Linked DNA regions of Homo sapiens: region 1 is linked to region 2. The links are contacts of gene promoters, found by promoter capture Hi-C in blood cells and fetal thymus (Javierre and others, 2016). All regions are on one chromosome and are shown on one strand. The core of a region is centred on a gene start or on the middle of the fragment in contact, and the rest is flanking DNA. Distances in the headings are between cores, read along the strand shown.

Region 1 (4,201 bases), core at 754-3,253, 220 kb after region 2:
GTTTAAAGCCACTGTGTTCTCAGAATGGCCGCAGAACGTGGGCAGCTGGTGCCTTGGACGCTGTCCTACTGTGGCACGCTGAAGTCCCCTCAGCCCTGCTAGAAACTGGCACACAGTGCCACATAAATAGCATGGGCTTTATTTATGCAAAGGGAACAAGTGGTCCCTTCTCTAGGAAGGTTACACCCTTAGGACTGGCATTTGGTGGCAGATGGGCAGTCTTCATTTCATGGAAACCTAACTCCTATCACCCTAAGGGGTGACACAACATTCCATTCTAGACCCTTGGACATGGGCCAGGACAATTCACATTTGTTTCATATGAAACAGCAAGTCAGAGGAATAAATAGCCCTTTAACCTTATTCAAAGGATCTGTCTGTGTGGGACCTTTTGGGCTGAGCCCCAAGGGTCAAGGAGGCCTCACATTTTAACCACTCTCCAATGACAACTTTTTTGTCAGTAGAGATGAAGGGGACTTGCCACAAATATTGATCCTAATTTAATTTTGGACACGTAATAGTAATCAAATTTAAGAGTAGTGAGGTGGCTGTAAAAATGGGGCATCCCCACCAAAGCTCTCAGAAACCTGACTTTTCATTGTGTTTTGAAAAGAAACAGTGGCCAGGCTTGGTGGCTCATGCGTGTAATCCCAGCACTTTGGGAGTCTGAGGCGGGCAGATCACCTGAGCTCAGGAGTTTGAGAACAGCCTGAGCAACATGGTGAAACCTTGTCTCTGCTAAAAATACAAAAAAAAATTAGCCGAGCATGGTGGCACATGCCTGTAATCCCAGTTACTTGGGAGGCTGAGGCATGAGAATTGCTTGAACCCAAGAGGCGGAGGTTGCAGTGAGCTAAGATCATGCCACTGCACTCCAGCCTGGGTGACAGAGCAAGACTCTGTCTCAAAAAAAATTAATATTAAAAAATAAAATGAAATAAAAAATAAAAGGGAGAGAGAGAGCGCGCTTACCTATTACTGAATAAGAATAAAATCTCTTAATGCCACTCACTTTAATCTCTGCATCTCCTTTTCTGGAAATGGTGGAATTTTTAGCATGTTTCTGAGTCTGATATGTCTCATATTTTTAAGTGCCTATGGCATGCAGGAAAGAAGAGAGACACTCCCCAGAGGAAAGCCTGCTGCCCTCCCTGAACTTGGGCCATGAACTGACCATGTCATTACATTATCCCTCTTCAGTCCCAGGACTCAATGTTGCAAGATCCCTGCAAGCCGCATTCCATTATTCAAATGCCATTTCAGCCAAAATCTCCATCTGCCTAAAAGATGTCTCTGTCCTAGCCAATGGCTCCTCCACTGGCACATCATCTGAAGCCTCAGAATTCTATACAGAAAAGCCATCATGATGATTTAAGAGTCCTTGGGGTTTGTAAGAATGAGAGTCTGTTTCATAAAAATTGGCATCCAAATCATGGTTCCAGCTACACATGTTTAATACTGAATTTAAGTAATCAGATTCCTAATTTGAAAATTGCTTAGTTGCCAAGACTCTGATAGACCTTTTCTCAACACAAAAGTACAAGACGAGAGGGCAGCTTAAGATATCCATATGAAAAAGAATAAAATTGGACCCCTACCTCACACCATATACAAAAGTTAACTCAAAATGGACCCAAAATGTAAATGTAAGAGGTAAAGCTAGAAATCTCTTAAAAAGGAATATAGGTGTAAATCTTAGTTACCTTTCTTAAACATTATACCGAAAGCACAAACAAGGAGAAACTGACAAGCTGAACTTCATCAAAATTAAAAACTTTTGTGTGTCAGTGAACACTATCAAAGAAGTGAACAAAGAATGCACAGAATAAGAGAAAATATTTGTAAATCAAACATATAATAAGGGTCTAATATCTAGAATATATTTTTTAAAATTTGAAACTTGACATAAGAAGATAAATAGCCCAATTTTAAAATACACAAAAGATTTGAATAGACATTAGTCTAAACAAGATATACAAATGTCCAATAGGCACATAAGAAGATGCTCAATATTATTAGACATTAGAGAAATGCAAATCAAAACCACAATCAGATACAACTTCATACCAACTAGGATGGCTATAAACAACAACAATAATAAAAACAACAAATAAATAAAAACAGAAAATAATGTTGGTGAATATGTGGATGTATTGAAGTCTTCATGCCTTTCTAGTCAGAATGTAAAATGGTTCAACACTGTGGTAAACAGTCTGGTGCCTCCTCAAAATGTTAAGATTTACCATGTGGTCCAGCAATTCCACTACTGGATATGAATCCAAGAGAATTGAAAATGTGTGCTCAAACAAAAGTTTGCACGTAAATGTTCATAACAGCATTATTCATAATAACCAAAAAGTACAAACAACACAAATATCTACTAATTGATGAATGCATAAACAAACTGTGGCATAATCATTCAATGGAATATTACTGCACCATAAAAAGGAATGAAGTGCTGATACATGCTAAAATGTAGATGAACTTTGAAAATCTTATGCTAAGTGAAAGAAGCCAAATACAAAGGCTATATATGGTGTGATTCCGTTTATCTAAAATGTTCTAAATAGGCAAATCTATGGAACCACAAAGATTAGTGGTTGTGAGTTACTGGTAGGGGGACTGGTGGTGTTAGGGGAGAGTTGAGAGCGACTGCTAACCTTTTGAGGTGATGGAAAGGTCCAGTAATTAGACAATAATGATAGTTGTACAACATTTTGAATATATTAAAAACCACTGAATCATGTACATTAAAATAGTGAGTTTTAGGGTAAGAGATTTATATCTTAAGTTTTTCAAAAAAATAAAAATAAGATAAAACCACACACAGAGAACAGTAAGTGCTCAACAAATCACTAAAACAGCAGTCACCAGCTGGAACATCCATAAGTAGACATCAATAGAATGAACCAGAAAGCCCAGAAACAGACCAGGGAAACAGGAGAATTTTTTTAATAGGATACAACGCCATTTCAAGTTAGCTAGGAAAACACAGATTATTCAACAAGTAGTGTTAAGACAAAGTTTAACCATCTAAAAAAATAAATAAATAAGGCGGATCCAGACCTCACACTCTACACCAAAATAAATTACATAAAATATTTAAATATAAAAAACAAAATAACAAAAATGCTTTTAAAAATTGATAATATTCTATAAGGGACTGCATCTATTTTATAATTCCAGGATAAATTTACAATATAAAATATTTTAATAATTCTTATTCAATATTTGCTTTTATTGTTATTATTAAGTATATATTTAGTTGTTATGTTCATATGTAATGGCGTGTTTTTCAGTATTGCGGCAATAGAGGGGACAAAAAATAAAAATAAAAAATTGTAGTATTGATCTAGAAGCACACGAACAGCTGAATATGTTACAATATGTTCAAGCCATGTTTCAGCAATCTGTTTCTGGTCTAATGGAGACATTCCCAGCCAGGAGGGATTTTGCCTCCCAGGGAACATTTGGCAATGTCTGGAAATATTTTTGATTGTCCCAACTTGGGCAGTGCAGAGGGTGATGCTACTGGTATGTGGTGTAGAAAGGCCAGCAACAATCTAAACAGGGCAGCTACCCAGAGCAAAGAATTATCCAGCTCAAAATATCAATAGCGCCTCTGTTCAGAAGCCTTGCACTAGTGGAAGGATGGTGCTTGATGTTCTTAATAATAAACCTGTTTCCTGGGACCCGTGGAAACTCCCAGGCATTGAGACACCAGAAACCAGAAGCTCCTTCTTTGATGCTTCTCTTTTATTATTATTTATTGAGAACTTATTGTATGCCAGGCACTATGCTAAATTACTTAAGTGCAGTATTTAATTTTAATCTTCACAATTACCCTATTCTACATACTACCTTATTGTACACATTTGTTATTTCTTATTCACAATGAGGAAACAAATGCTTTGGGTAACTTATCAGAGGTTCCTAAATATTGAACAGTGAAGGTAGGACTGGAACAAAGATGAATCTGACCCCAGGGTCCGTGTATAAAACTTCCATGCTTTGCCATCTTATAAGACCCTGAGCCTATTCCATGGGTCCAGTTACATGTCTCTGTCCTCCAGGGTAAAAGTTAAGGCAGGAACATGATCAAATAACTGAATGTGATTATCATTGATCATCACTGATAAGGAAAGATTCCTGGACCACACTGCCCACTGTTGAGGGACTAAGTATTAAAGAGCACTAGTAG
Region 2 (3,933 bases), core at 587-3,086:
GAAGGCATAATTATATATCTGTATATAATCGACAATAGGTTATTTAGAATCATCCATGCTGTTGCATTTGATAACAACCAGAATAGTTTATTCCTTTTCATTGCTGTAATAGTCTACTGATGAATGTGCTATAATTTATTTATTCATTGTTGATGGACATTCAAGTGGCTTCTTGTTTTGAACTGCTATAAATAACACTGCCATGAACTTTCTTGTTCTTGTATGTCTTTTGTTGCATGTGTGTGTATATCTTGAGATGTAAACCTAGCAGTGGAATTACTAGGTCACAATGTATTCAACTTTATGTTCAACTTTAGTTGATCTTGCCAAACAGTTTTTCAAAGAGGTGGAACCACCCACAGAGTATGAGAATTCCAGGGGATGATATGGGGGATGCCTCACATTTGAAAGAAACTAAAATAAAATACCATGAGTAAATACAAATTAGAAAATAAGAAGAAAAGACAATGACTTCCAGACTGGGTTAAAAAAATTAGCTATATGTTTGTTAAAATAAACACATCTAAGTCATGGGCAATGACTTAACAGGCATTTTTAAAATGAGGAAATTAGAAATGGCTGCCCAAATAGCAGATGAAGTCAAGTTCTAGACCTAAAGTCTTAAATAAGGAAAGAAATATGTTGACAAAATGCAAAATCCATGCAGAAAATGGAAGTCTCCTTATTTGTTTAGCAAATAATACACAACAGCAAAATACATCACACAATCCTCTCCAAAGATCCAAGTGGAACTTAAATCACCTGTTTCAGAACTAGAAGATTAGTTGGAAAAAAAAATAAGCCAGCATGTAGAAATTTAAATTAAACATCATACAAGTTATATTTGATTAGGTATGTAGACAGAGAACCTCTTTGTTCGTAGAGCAGGGTAGAACGAAACAAAGAAAACCGAAGTGGAAATGTGGTGGCCAAGGAACGAAGTCCCTGATACGGAGCTTTTCCTAAGTCTACTTCCATCCTCAACAAGCAATTTTGATGAGGAAAACTTAGTTGATAAAATGCTAATAATTGGCTCTAAAAAGGTATACATGAGTGACTGAGTTAACATCCTAGCACAGGTAAATAAAAACCCTTGAGAGAAGAATGCTTCACCTGGAGAGGTGGGATGCTGAGGTTTGCTATTTTACAGGGCTCTGGACTGAATTGGACTGTGGCCCAACGTCTAATAGGGTGCCCACCCCTTGACAATGAGATTCACTGCCTACTAGGTAGGGTGAAAACTGGTGCAGAACACTGGACATGACCTAAAGGAGAAAGCAATAAGGCTACACACAGCCTAAGCTGAGGACGCTGTATGCATCTAGGCCTCCAGGCTTCAAAGGTACTGATAGAAAGCAAGGCCCTACATCAAAATATTACTCAGAGAAAAAGATAAGCCAGGAGGGACGAGCCAAGATGGCCGAATAGGAACAGCTCCGGTCTACAGCTCCCAGCCTGAGCGACGCAGAAGACGGGTGATTTCTGCATTTCCATCTGAGGTAGCGGGTTCATCTCACTAGGGAGTGCCAGACAGTGGGCGCAGGTCAGTGGGTGCGCGCACCATGCACGAGCCGAAGCAGGGCGAGGCATTGCCTCACTCGGGAAGCGCAAGGGGTCAGGGAGTTCCCTTTCTTAATCAAAGAAAGGGGTGACAGACGGCACCTGGAAAATCGGGAAAATCGGGTCACTCCCACCCGAATACTGCACTTTTCCGACGGGCTTAAAAAACGGCGCACCACGAGATTATATCCCCCACCTGGCTCAGAGGGTCCTACGCCCACGGAGTCTCGCTGATTGCTAGCACAGCAGTCTGAGATCAAACTGCAAGGCGGCAGCGAGGCTGGGGGAGGGGCGCCTGCCATTGCCCAGGCTTGCTTAGGTAAACAAAGCAGCTGGGAAGCTCGAACTGGGTGGAGCCCACCACAGCTCAAGGAGGCCTACCTGCCTCTGTAGGCTCCACCTCTGGGGGCAGGGCACAGACAAACAAAAAGACAGCAGTAACCTCTGCAGACTTAAATGTCCCTGTCTGACAGCTTTGAAGAAAGCAGTGGTTCTCCCAGTACGCAGCTGGAGATCTGAGAACGGGCAGACTGCCTCCTCAAGTGGGTCCCTGACCCCTGAGCAGCCTAACTGGGAGGCACCCTCCAGCAGGGGCACACTGACACCTCACACTGCAGGGTACTCCAACAGACCTGCAGCTCAGGGTCCTGTCCGTTAGAAGGAAAACTAACAAACAGAAAGGACATCCACACCAAAAACCCCATCTGTACATCACCATCATCAAAGACCAAAAGTAGATAAAACCACAAAGATGGGGAAAAAACAGAACAGAAAAACTGGAAACTCTAAAAATCAGAGCGCCTCTCCTCCTCCAAAGGAGTGCAGCTCCTCACCAGCAACGGAACAAAGCTGGATGGAGAATGACTTTGACAAGCTGAGAGAAGAAGGCTTCAGACGATCAAATTACTCTGAGCTACGGGAAGACATGCAAACCAAAGGCAAAGAAGTTGAAAACTTTGAAAAAAATTTAGAAGAAAGTATAACTAGAATAACGAATACAGAGAAGTGCTTAAAGGAGCTGATAGAGCTGAAAACCAAGGCTCGAGAACTACGTGAAGAATGCAGAAGCCTCAGGAGCCCACGTGATCAACTGGAAGAAAGGGTATCAGCGATGGAAGATGAAATGAATGAAATGAAGCGAGAAGGGAAGTTTAGAGAAAAAAGAATAAAAAGAAATCAGCAAAACCTCCAAGAAATATGGGACTATGTGAAAAGACCAAATCTACGTCTGATTGGTGTACCTGAAAGTGATGGGGAGAATGGAACCAAGTTGGAAAACACTCTGCAGGATAGTATCCAGGAGAATTTCCCCAATCTAGCAAGGCAGGCCAACGTTCAGATTCAGGAAATACAGAGAACGCCACAAAGATACTCCTCGAGAAGAGCAACTCCAAGACACATAATTGTCAGATTCACCAAAGTTGAAATGAAGGAAAAAATGTTAAGGGCAGCCAGAGAGAAAGGTCGGGTTACCCTCAAAGGGAAGCCCATCAGACTAACAGTGGATCTCTCGGCAGAAACCCTACAAGCCAGAAGAGAGTGGGGGCCAATATTCAACATTCTTAAAGAAAAGAATTTTCAACCCAGAATTTCATATCCAGCCAAACTAAGCTTCATAAGTGAAGGAGAAATAAAATCCTTTACAGACAAGCAAATGCTGAGAGATTTTGTCACCACCAGGCCTGCCCTAAAAGAGCTCCTGAAGGAAGTGCTAAATATGGAAAGGAACAACTGGTACCAGCCTCTGCAAAATCATGCCAAAATGTAAAGACCATCGAGACTAGGAAGAAACTGCATCAACTAACGAGCAAAATAACCAGCTAACATCATAATGACAGGACCAAATTCACACATAACACTATTAACTTTAAATGTAAATGGACTAAATGCTCCAATTAAAAGACACAGACTGGCAAACTGGATAAAGAGTCAAGACCCATCAGTGTGCTGTATTCAGGAAACCTATCTCACATGCAGAGACCCACATAGGCTCAAAATAAAAGGATGGAGGAAGATCTACCAAGCAAATGGAAAACAAAAAAAGGCAGGGGTTGCAATCCTAGTCTCTGATAAAACAGACTTTAAACCAACAAAGATCAAAAGAGACAAAGAAGGCCATTACATAATGGTAAAGGGATCAATTCAACAAGAAGAGCTAACTATCCTAAATATATATGCACCCAATACAGGAGCACCCAGATTCATAAAGCAAGTCCTGAGTGACCTACAAAGAGACTTAGACTCCCACACAATAATAATGGGAGACTTTAACACCCCACTGTCAACATTAGACAGATCAACGAGACAGAAAGTCAACAAGGATACCCAGGAATTGAACTCAGCCCTGCACCAAGCGGACCTAATAGACATCTA

What was found. Contacts are between HindIII fragments. The CHiCAGO score rates a contact against its expected background, and 5 or more counts as called.
Region 1: a fragment that was not itself captured here is called in contact with the fragment with the promoter of ABCA9-AS1 in region 2 in 1 of 17 cell types (M2 macrophages); the score reaches 5.6 in M2 macrophages.

The regions. Positions count from the first base shown.
Region 1 is chr17:68,780,052-68,784,252 of GRCh38, reverse strand. No RefSeq gene overlaps it. Among named protein-coding and RNA genes, the nearest start is that of LINC01482, 150 kb to the right of the region's middle. The HindIII fragment of the contact is 5,949 bases long and covers 1-4,201 here.
Region 2 is chr17:69,002,617-69,006,549 of GRCh38, reverse strand. ABCA9-AS1 (ABCA9 antisense RNA 1) reads right to left here and starts at 1,836. Exons shown (of 4, transcript NR_126414.1): 1 at 1,757-1,836. The region is part of intron 25 of ABCA9 (ATP binding cassette subfamily A member 9); the gene reads left to right. The HindIII fragment of the contact is 13,565 bases long and covers 1-3,173 here.